2 separate regions of the Homo sapiens genome follow, and region 1 is linked to region 2. The links are contacts of gene promoters, found by promoter capture Hi-C in human tissues and cell types (Jung and others, 2019). All regions are on one chromosome and are shown on one strand. Each heading gives the region's core, a stretch centred on a gene start or on the middle of the fragment in contact. The rest is flanking DNA. Distances are from core to core; before and after follow the strand shown. Region 1 has its middle 44 kb from the start of CDC25A. Region 2 holds the start of DHX30 (DExH-box helicase 30).

The links. The method cuts DNA at HindIII sites, captures the fragments that hold promoters and counts their contacts. A contact is called where the count stands out against the background at its distance.
Region 1: a contact is called between a fragment that was not itself captured here and the fragment with the promoter of DHX30 in region 2, in 2 of the 25 tissues and cell types used here (liver and lymphoblastoid cells).

What each region holds. Positions count from the first base shown.
Region 1 is chr3:48,141,542-48,146,766 of GRCh38, reverse strand. No RefSeq gene overlaps it. Among named protein-coding and RNA genes, the nearest start is that of CDC25A, 44 kb to the left of the region's middle. The HindIII fragment of the contact is 7,474 bases long and covers 96-5,225 here.
Region 2 is chr3:47,801,280-47,806,514 of GRCh38, reverse strand. DHX30 (DExH-box helicase 30) reads right to left here and starts at 3,377. Exons shown (of 22, transcript NM_138615.3): 1 at 3,303-3,377; 2 at 1,095-1,189. RefSeq lists silencers at 1,583-1,779, 2,957-3,806 and an enhancer at 2,707-3,232. The HindIII fragment of the contact is 11,371 bases long and covers 1-5,235 here.

The sequences.
Region 1 (5,225 bases), core at 2,583-5,082, 340 kb before region 2:
AGCCAGGATGGCCTCGATCTCCTGACCTCATGATCTGCCCGCCTCAGCCTCTCAAAGTGCTGGGAACAGGCATGAGCCACCGCGCCTGGCCAATAAATTTCTTTTCTTTATAGTCTTGGCTGGGCACAGTGGCTCACGCCTGTAATCCCAGCACTTTGGGAGGTCGAGGTGAGTGGATCACCTGAGGTCAGGAGTTCGAGACCAGCCTGGCCAATATGGCAAAACCCCCATCTCTACTGAAAAAAAAAAAAAAAAAAAAAGGCCAGGTGGCGGCTCACACCTGTAATCCCAGCACTTTGGGAGGCCGAGGCTGGCGGATCACCTGAGGTCAGGAGTTCAAGACCAGCTTGGCCAGCATGGTGAAACCCCATCTCTACTAAAAATACAACAATTAGCCGGACGTGGTGGCGGGCACCTGTAATCCCAGCTACTGGGGAGGCTGAGACAGGAGAATCCCTTGAACCTGGGAGGCGGAGGTTGCAGTGAGCCGAGATCGTGCCATTGCACTCCAGCCTGAGCAACAAAAAGCGAAATCCCATCTAAAAAAAAAATGGCAAAACCCCATCTCTAGTAAAAATACAAAAATTAGCCAGGTATGGTGGCAGGCGCCTGTAATCCCAGCTACTTGGGAAGCTAAGGCAGGAGAATCACTTGAACCCGGAGGGGGTGGGTGGAGTGAGCCAAGATCACACCATTGCACTCCAGCCTGGGCGACAGAGTGAGACTCCATCTCAAAAAAAAAAAAAATTACAGTCTCATGCTTGAGGGGATGGGCACTCTATTCCCCATGATGCACTTATTTCACATTGCATGCCTGTATCAAAACACTTCATGTACCTTGTAAATATATACACCTACTATGTACCCACAAAAAAATTGAAAATTTAAATAAATAAATAAATAAATTATAGTCTCAGCTGGGTGTGGTGGCTCACACCTGTAATCCCAGTGCTTTGGGAGGCTGAGGCAGGACGATTGCTTGAGCCCAGGATTTCAAGAGCAGCCTGAGCAACATAGTGAGACCCCTGTCTCTATTTTAAATAAATGTAAATAAATTACAGTCTCATGTATTCTGTTATAGCAGCATAAAACATATGTTAGAGGCCGGGCGCGGTGGCCTACGCCTGTAATCCCAGCACTTTGGGAGGCCAAAGCAGGTGGATCACGAGGTCAGGAGATTGAGACCATGCTGGCTAACACAGTGAAATCCCATCTCTCCTAAAAGTACAAAAAATTAGCTGGGCGTGGTGGCGGGCACCTGTAGTCCCAGCTACTCAGAGGCTGAGGCAGGAGAATGGCATGAACCCGGGAGGCAGAGCTTGCAGTGACCTTAGATCACTCCACTGCACTCCAGCCTGGGCTACAGAGCGAGACTCCATCTCAAAGAAAAAAGAAAAAAAAAAAACATATGTTAGAATAACTTAGATATATTTGAATAATACAGTTGTCCCTTGGTATCTGTGGGGAGTTGGTTCCAGGACCCCCACTGATATCAAAATCCAAAGACGCTCAAATCGCTTATATAAATGGCATGATATGGCCAGGCACGGTGGCTCACACCTGTAATCCTAGCTCTTTGGGAGGCCAAGGCAGGAGAATCACTTGAGGCCAAGAGTTCAAGACCAGTCTGGGCAATATGGCGAAACCCTGTCTCTGCTAAAAATACAAAAAATTAGCTGGGTGTGGTGGTACACACCTGTAGTTAAACAATTTTCACCTGTTCTCTTTATTGCAGGGTTTCTCAGAGCGCTTGGCCTGCCAGCATGCATCATGAATTTCAAGAGACGACAGAGCATTTTCCAAACCTATTTGCCCATGGAGACTTTTCTCCATGGAGTATCTCATTGGACTTAAGTTCCTGAGGACTAACTTTGGGGATGCTGTTTTCTCTTCTATGTGGCCATTTTCATTTGATTCTCACAGGATGGAATTCACCCTCATTTTATGGATGCAAACACTCATACTCATGGAGGTGGGTGAGTTGCTTCCGGTACTCAGTTAACAAACAGCAGAGACGGAAGTAGATGTTTGGGCTTCAGGTTCTAAGGCCAGACTCTTTGTTTTTCTTTTCTTTCTTTCTTTCTTTCTTTCTTTTTTTTTTTTTTTTTTGAGACTCACTCTGTCACCCAGGCTGGAGTGCAGTGGTGCAATCTCGGCTCACTGCAACCTCCACCTCCCAGGTTCAAGCGATTTTCCTGCCTCAGCCTCCTGCGTAGCTAGGATTACAGGGATGCGCCACCATGCCCGGCTAATTTTGTATTTTTAGTAGAGATGGGGTTTCTCCATGTTGGTCAGGCTGGTCTCGAACTCCTGACCTCAGGTGATTTGACCTCCTCGGCCTCCCAAAGTGCTGGGATTACAGGCGTGAGCCACCGCGTCTGGTGGCCTAGACTCTTTCTTGACTTTCTCCCACTTTCAAGTCACCTTCTCAAGAGATGGGCTGCTGAGCTTGCTTCTCAGGGAGGTGGAGAGTAGGCTGACTGGTGGGAAGTTGGAAGGGGAAATTTCAGGAAGCCACCGAGCGCGAGCTTCAGAGTTAGTGATAGGGACAGAGCTCTGTGTTGGACTTTCCAGGCCTTAGCCTGGTAACTCCTGCTGCCACCAAACATGAAGCCTCTGCTCTGGCCCCACCTACCTCACTGACAAGCCCTGCCTCTGGCTGCAGAATGGTGAGTGAGACAGGGAAATTGTGGGATAGGTGGAGTTTCCAGGAATACTGGGGTGAGGAAACACCCCCAGGCCTGAGCCCCGATGGAAAGAGCCCCACAGGAGTGGGTCTGGAGGGAAGAAAATCCTTGAAGGCCTGAGCCATTGTCTCCTTTCTGCAGGACACTGGGTCCACCCCACCAAGGAACTCAGTGGTCCCTGAACAAATGGGAGATTATTTTCAGGGTCCTTTATAGCATTCTTTGGCTATTTTTGTCTTCTCTTTTTGTTAAAAGTACATTCACACAGGACATTTCCTTCCTCTAACACAAAGCAGCACAGAATGGTGGGAAGGGTGCTGGCTTGGCATCGGCCGCCTTGCAGAGCACTGGGACAGGTTGCTCACCTCTGGCCTTCAGTTCCAAATTTGGGCTTCAATTTACTGAGTCCAGAAGCAATCTCTTGGTGACACCAACATTAAATTTCTTCTTCTTTCTTTCTTTTTTTTTTTTTGAGACGGAGTTTTGCTCTTGTCACCCAGGCTGGAGTGCAGTGGTGCGGTCTCAGTTCACTGTAACCTCTGCCTCCCAGATTCAAGCGATTCTTCTTGCCTCAGCCTCCCGAGTAGCTGGAATTACAGCCATGGGCCACCACGCCCAGCTAATTTTTGTATTTTTAGTAGAGACTAAAGGTGATCCACCCTCCTCGTCCTCCCAAAATGCTGGGATTACAGGCATGAGCCACCGCGCCGGCCCAACATTGAATTTCTATGAGACTTAATTTCTGGCTGGGCGCAGTGGCTTACACTTGTAATCCCAGCACTTTGGGAGGCCGAGGCAGGTGGATCACTTGAGGCCAGGAGCTCGAGACCAGTCTGGCCAACATGGCGAAACCCTGTCTCTACTAAAAAATACAAAAATTAGCTAGGCGTGGTGCTGGGCGCCTGAAATCCCAGCTACTCAGGAGGCTGAGGCAGGAGAATCGCTTAAACGCCGGAGGTGGAGGTTGCAGTGAGTCGAGATGGTGCCACTGCACTCCAGCCTGGGCGATGGAGTGAGACTGTCAAAAAAAAGAAAGAAAGAAAGAAAGACTTAATGTACTAATTTATGGCAGGAAGACCCTGCTTTCCCTCTCCTTCCTGACCTCATGATGGGTCCTGAACCAATAGTTGAGAATAAAGGAAGAGATTGGGGCCACTTGATCTAAGTTTGATGAGTGAGAGAAATTGTTCCCACATCTGGGCAGAGGGCACCTCCTGGGTACTCAGGTTCTTGGGCATCATGTCTCTCCCTCGATCCAGCTGGCCATGCACAGGCATTTTTGTTCTCCTGAGCCCTGGTTCTAGATGGGTTAATGCTGTGATTCAGCTGCAGTCTAGTCTCAGCGCTCCTGAGCTTGGGAGACACCCTGTCTCTCCCCTGCTCCCCACCCCACGCCTATGCTGCACCTCGAGGGCAAGGGTAGCAGGGCCGATGGAAGCTGAGGCACCTCACCTGCCTGGCATTTGCCAGTGCCCAAACAGCTGGGTGTGCAGGAGGAAGAATGAGGAGCCTTGGCAGCTGCCAAGCTACCCAGCGGGGGAGGGAAGGTGGCCAGGTGCGGCTGAAACAGGGTGCGGTGACTGGTCTGGGAGCTCCGAGGCCTGCCCAGACATCTGGCTGGGTCAGGAGGGCCAGGTGTGCTAAGAAGTGTGGGCTGCCCCAAAGCACAGGCTACTGAGCACCTCATGAGTGTAAGATTTGGTGAGCGCCTGAGCGGAGGAGGGGATGGGTGGATGGAAACTTCAGATTCATTATCTGTAAAGTGTGGATAAATAGCAGGGTGGTTTGAAAATTAAATGACTTAGACCAGCCTGTCCAATATGGTGAAACCCCATCTCTACTAAACATATAAAAATAAGCTGGGCGTGGTGGCATATTCCTGTAATCCCAGCTACTTGGGAGGCTGAGGCAGAAGAATCGGTTGAACCCGGGAGGCGGAGGTTGCAGTGAGCTGAGATCGTGCCACTGCACTCCAGCCTGGGCGACAAAGCGAGACTCTGTCTGGAAGGAAGGAAGGAAGGAAGGAAGGAAGGAAGGAAGGAAGGAAAGGAAATTAAATGACTTAATACATATAGGGTACGTAGCACAGTTCCAGTAAGTTCTCAAAAGTCCCAGGTATGATTATGATGAGTCCAGCACATAGGGTTGGGCAGGTTCAGTGTCTGATTCATCTGTTATCCTCTGTGTAACTACAAAAACAACAGACAAAATCAAGACAGCAGCAAAAGTCATCTCCCTCGAGTCCTCGTGAAACCCTATGAGGCAGATACCATTATTGAGCCCATTTTCCAGATGGACAGACAGGCATGGTGAGGCCACCATAATCAGCTAAGGCTAAGCCATGAAGCAGCTGTCCCCACAGAGGGCCTGCCCCATACTCTGGCTGAGGCGAAGGTCGTTCCTCCACCCTCTCCCACTGCCCACCACCCGGTCAGAGAAGCCTGCTGAGGCAGATGAGGAAACAAGGAACCAAGAGGTGACAGGCAGAGCCAGGAGCAGGTATTCTTCCCTCTGAGTGGCCTCTCCAAGCAGCCTCCA
Region 2 (5,235 bases), core at 2,128-4,627:
AAGATTGCACCACTGTACTCCAGCCTGGGTGACAGAGTGAGACTCCATCTCAGAAAAAAAAAAGAAAAAAATTGGCCAGGCACGGTGGCTCACACCTGTAATCCCAGCACTTTCGGAGGCAGAGGCAGGCAGATCACAAGGTCAGGAGTTTGAGGTTAGCCTGACCAAAATGGTGAAACCCCATCTCTACTAAAAATACAAAAATAAGCCAGGCGTGGTGGTGCGCACCTGTAATCCCAGCTACTCAGGAGGCTGAGGCAGGAGAATCGCTTGAACCCAGGAGGCAGAGGTTGCAGTGAGCCAAGATCCCACCACTGCACTCCAACCTGGGCAACAGAGTGAGACTCCCATCTAAAAAAAAAAAAAAAAATACAAAAAAATTAGCCGGGCTTGGTGGCATGAGGCTGAGGCAGGGGAATTGCTTGAACTAAGGAGGTGGAGGTTGCAGTGAGCCAAGATTGCACCACTGCACTCCAGCCTGGGCGACAGGGCAAGACTGTCTCAAAAACAAAAAACCTTGTAGCTCAATGTGTCTCTTAAGTAATTTACAGATAAGTAAAATGCTATTATATCAAGATTTCCTGCATAATGAAATACAATTTAACTCCAGGTAGAGTCACTTGGGGATGGTTCCAGGACAGAGACTCCACAATGACTAAAAATGATACCCTTCTGGCTGGGCACAGTGGCTCATGCCTGTAATCCCAGCACTTTGGGAGGCTGAGGCAGGCTGATCACCTGACGTCAGGGGTTTGAGACCAGCCTGGCCAACATGGTGAAACCCAGTCTCTACTAAAAATACAAAACAATCAGCTGGGCATGGTGGCAGGCGCCTGTAATCTCAGCTACTTGGGAGGCTGAGACAGGAGAATTGCTTGAACCTGGGAGGCAGAGGTTGCAGCAAGCCAAGATCGCGCCACTGCACTCCAGCCTGGGGGACAAAGCGAGACTCTGTCTCAAAAATAAAACAAAATAAAATAAATGATATCCTTCTTCCAAAATGGTCAGAAATAGGTTTAACACATACCTCTTGTTTTACAGTACAGCTGAGCATCAGATCCACCACTGCTCTGTGCACGGCTAAATCAACTTACCTTATAAAAGCAATGACAGTCTCAGATTTTGTAGGCTTTTGAACTGGAGCTGAATTCTCTCCTTGCTATTCCTCATCACGAGGCTGGGCCTCCTCCTGAGAAGTACAACGCTGAGTCAATACAGTGGAGGCCCCATAGGGAAAGAAAGTTGCTCCAACCATCATTTACTAGCTCTAACAAGGACAAATTTTGTTAGTGGCATGAAGGGCACATACTGGACAAAATGGCCTTACAAATCAGGACTTACCATGACCCATTCTAGGCCCATTAAATTGTAAGCTGTCCTACACCAGCACCTGTAGAAGTGCTGAAGTCTTCTGACATCATCTAAGAAGATGTCAAGGTAAAGAAAGCCTTGTAAGCCTGAAAAGCATTTTCTGGAAGCCCAGAGCAAAACCTACTTCCACTTTGAGTTCTAATCCCATAATAATTATGATAATCTAACATAAAGAAGCTATAATACTCTTCAAGATTGGGAAAATAACAATAACTCAAAGTTGAATACCATTTTTACAGTTCACAACATACTTCCATAGACTTTACCCCATTTAATCCAGGCAACTATCCAGTGAGGTAGGAATTATCTTTCCAGAGAAGAAAACTGAAGCACAGGTTACACAACCTGCCCAAGATCCCATAGCTGCCTCAGGGCAGATGGAAATCAGCATTGAAGCATGCTGACTCCAAAACCCTCCATGCTTATACTAGGCTAATTTTCTTATTTCCAGGATATTATGCTGTTGCCTAAATGTACTACGGTTCATTCCTTGAGACATATTATACTGTTATCTTCAAAGGCTGAAAGGGGCAAGAAAGGTCCAACAGCTAATAAAACTTGTGTGTGGTTTTTGTTTTGTTTTGTTTTGAGAAGGAGTTTCGCTCTTGTTGCCCAGGCTGGGGTGAAATGGCGCGATCTTGGCTCACTGCAACCTCGGCCTCCTGGGTTCAAGCAATTCTCTTGCCTCAGCCTCCCAAGTAGCTAGGGTTACAGGCGCACGCCACCATGCCCGGCTAATTTTTGTATTTTTAGTAGAAACGAGGTCTAGCCATGTTGGCCAGGCTGGTCTCAAACTTCTGACCTCAGGTGATCCACCCGCCTCGGCCTCCCAAAGTGCTGGGATTACAGGCGTGAGACACCGCTCCCGGCCCTAATAAAACTTTGTATCACAGCTACATAAATTAAAACACTTGAAGAGCAACTATCTTTTAGGGATAAAGAGCCAACACCGGTAGAAAACGCAGCAAAGGATGTAGTTTCTGCACATCGCCTTAAATCTCTAAGATTTAAGTGTAAATTACAAGATGTAGTTAAAACCCACAATGACAGTGGGGTTACCACCTTGCAAGAAACTTCAAGGGAAATCACCAGACAACGTCTCATTTCACTCTGGCCCATAAGCTGCAACTAAAACCAGGTTGAAAGCCTGTAAGTGGCCTTCTGCAGTCTACCTGCTAGTGTATGGCAAACCCTCATGGAGTGGGGTTGTAAAGTGAAACAGCCTCTGCCTTGAAAAATCATAATTCAAGTGACCAATGTTGCTACACAACGACTAGATATGCCATATCCCTGGCTTAGGGTTTCTGAGGACCCCTGGGACTCCAGTTCACTGCAAACAAAGGACCCAACATGCATTTGGTCTTCCCCTGCTAAATGGGACAAGTTACCACCAGCAAACAAAGAATACCTCACCCCTTGGCCTCCCCCAGTGACAAGGTCGGTGCAAAAGGGGGCAAACTAGGGGGGCCAGAAGGCACCGGGCCTCCCTCTGGACGAACGGTCCGGGCAGCACCGGGAAGGAGGAGAAGTAGACAAAGGTCTCGGGGCACTCAGGAGGCTTCCTCCAGGCCCTGCCTGGGGAAACGGCGCATCCCGAGGCGAAGGCGTCGTTGCGCCAATGAAGCGGCCTCTCCCACGGCCTCCGCGGAGCCCCTGGCTGCGAGGCCCGCCCCGGCGGACCGGTCTGGCCCCCGCCCCCGCCCGGGCTCCATGGCAACGGCAGGCCGAGGCCTGGCTGCCCACGGATCGGCCGGGCCGGCTTCCCGGGCAGGCCTAGGATGCCCGGCCTGCTCCTCGGGCCCGCCGGCGTCTCCGCCCCACTCTCCGCCAGGCTGGCGGTCGGACCGGGCCCCCTCCTCACGACGACCACCCCCGGCCGCGGCAGGCTCCTCAAGAGGGCACGAAAGGGGAGAATAAAAAGCCCAATTCACCTGTTGTTACAGATGTGAAACAAGCCTCTGTGCACCGCGCATGAGCCGCGGCTCCCCCAACCACGGCCGGACTACAACTCCCAGCAGCGGCGGCGCGGCCCCTTCCGAGTCCCGTGGCGGAAGTCCCGCCACCGGCCCGGCGTTCCCCACCCGGCGTCACGGAGCCCGCCTGCGGCGCACGGCTCCGCTCCCCCGCGGGCCTGGAGCCCGGCCCCACCTGGGACTCGTCGTAGCCGCTCGGGGCACCCAGCGCCCGGGATGCCCCAGCACCCGGCCCAATGGGGCGCGGCGGCGGTGCAGGCGGGACTTCCGGCGGAGTCGCGAAGGGGACGGGTTGGCGCCGGCTGCTCTGGGGTCGCAGAGCGAGCGGGTTTGGGTGGCGGGGTCGGGCGTCAAGTTGCTGCCTTTCTCGGCGACTTAGCTGCCTGCAGTGTGAAAGCGGGAAGGGTCTTCTCGCCCTCTGCGAGCCACCCGCGCCTCCTGATGCGAATAAACAGCCCGGGTCATGGCTGAGCGGGGAACGGTTTCCAGCTCGGGCTCCGGGATTCCACCCGCCTTCCCCGCCACAGCTCGTAGCCACGCCTCTTCTCTTCCCCATCTCCCCTCTAATCTGTTTTTTTAGGGAGGTGAGCATTTTTGTCTTGTCTCCCCAGTTTGCAGGGAAGATGAAATCAACGTGTTGGTTCGTTGATTTCGTAAACTGTACAACGTTAGGCAAAGGACAAGGTGGCACTTGCTGGTCGCGGGGAGAGTGCCAGTCATAGTTGCTGGAAATCTGGAGGTCCGCCCGGCCACATCACCTCTTAGGAATGAGAAAGGGGATTGTCCCAATTACACGCTGTAGTCCTCTAGATAAGGTTCAAGTATAGGTTCAGTGGAATTCAGCTTCAAAAGGAAACAACGCAGTGGCGTAGCTCTGAAGCTGGGTCAGGATTTTACAGAGTATGGTTTTAAGATGTGGCCTTTAGGCCGGGCGTGGTGGCTCACGCCTGTAATCCCAGCACTTTGGGAGGCCAAGGCGGGTGGATCACCTGCGGTCAGGAGTTCAAAACCAGCCTGGCCAACATGGTGAAACCCCGTCTCAACTAAAAATGCAAAAAAATTAGCTGGGCGTGGTGGCGGGCGCATATAATCCTAGCTACTTCGGGAGGCTGAGGCAGGAGAATCACTTGAACCCGGGAGGCGGATGTTGCAGTAAGCCGAGATCGTGTCATTGAACTCCAGCCTGGGCGACAAGAATGAAACTTAAAAAAAAAAAAAAAAAAAGATGTGACCTTTGAGGCTGTATGAAGAATTAGTGCCATATCCCGTCACTTTTGTGTGCAAACAGTTCAACATGTATCTCTTTTCTTTCTCTCTACATTGGCTAGAAGACCGGGGTGTGGGGGTGGAACATCATTTATTCATTCAAATAATTAGTGCATCTGAACAGGGCATGGTGCTGTGTTGTGTGGAGAATAGAGAGATCCCTGCACGGACATCTGAGTGCTCTGTGTATCAGTTGCTAAGCTGGTGTGGAGGCTACAAAGGCCCTGCCTCAAGGGACTTAGAGCCTAGTAGAGAAGATGACAACATTGTGTGAAGGAAATGGAAAGTGGTAAATGCTGGAAAGGAGGTATTAGGTACTCCAAGAGTTCAGAGAAAGGAGTGGTTACTCCTGAATGGCAAAATGAAAGGAACGTGAACAAAGACATACGAGTGGAACAAGGGACAAATCCTAGGAATATTCAGTAGTTCAGTGTGACCACAGGGTTGGATGTGTGTGCAAGCTTTACAGGAAATAGAACTGAAAAACTGTTGGGGAGTGCCATACTAAGGAATTTTTACTTTTTTTGGTAAGACATTTAAAAAATTATTAGGAGAGTAAAATACTGCACTTTTTTGTTGTTGTTGAGACAGAGTCTCTACTCAGTCACCCAGGCTGGAGTGCAGT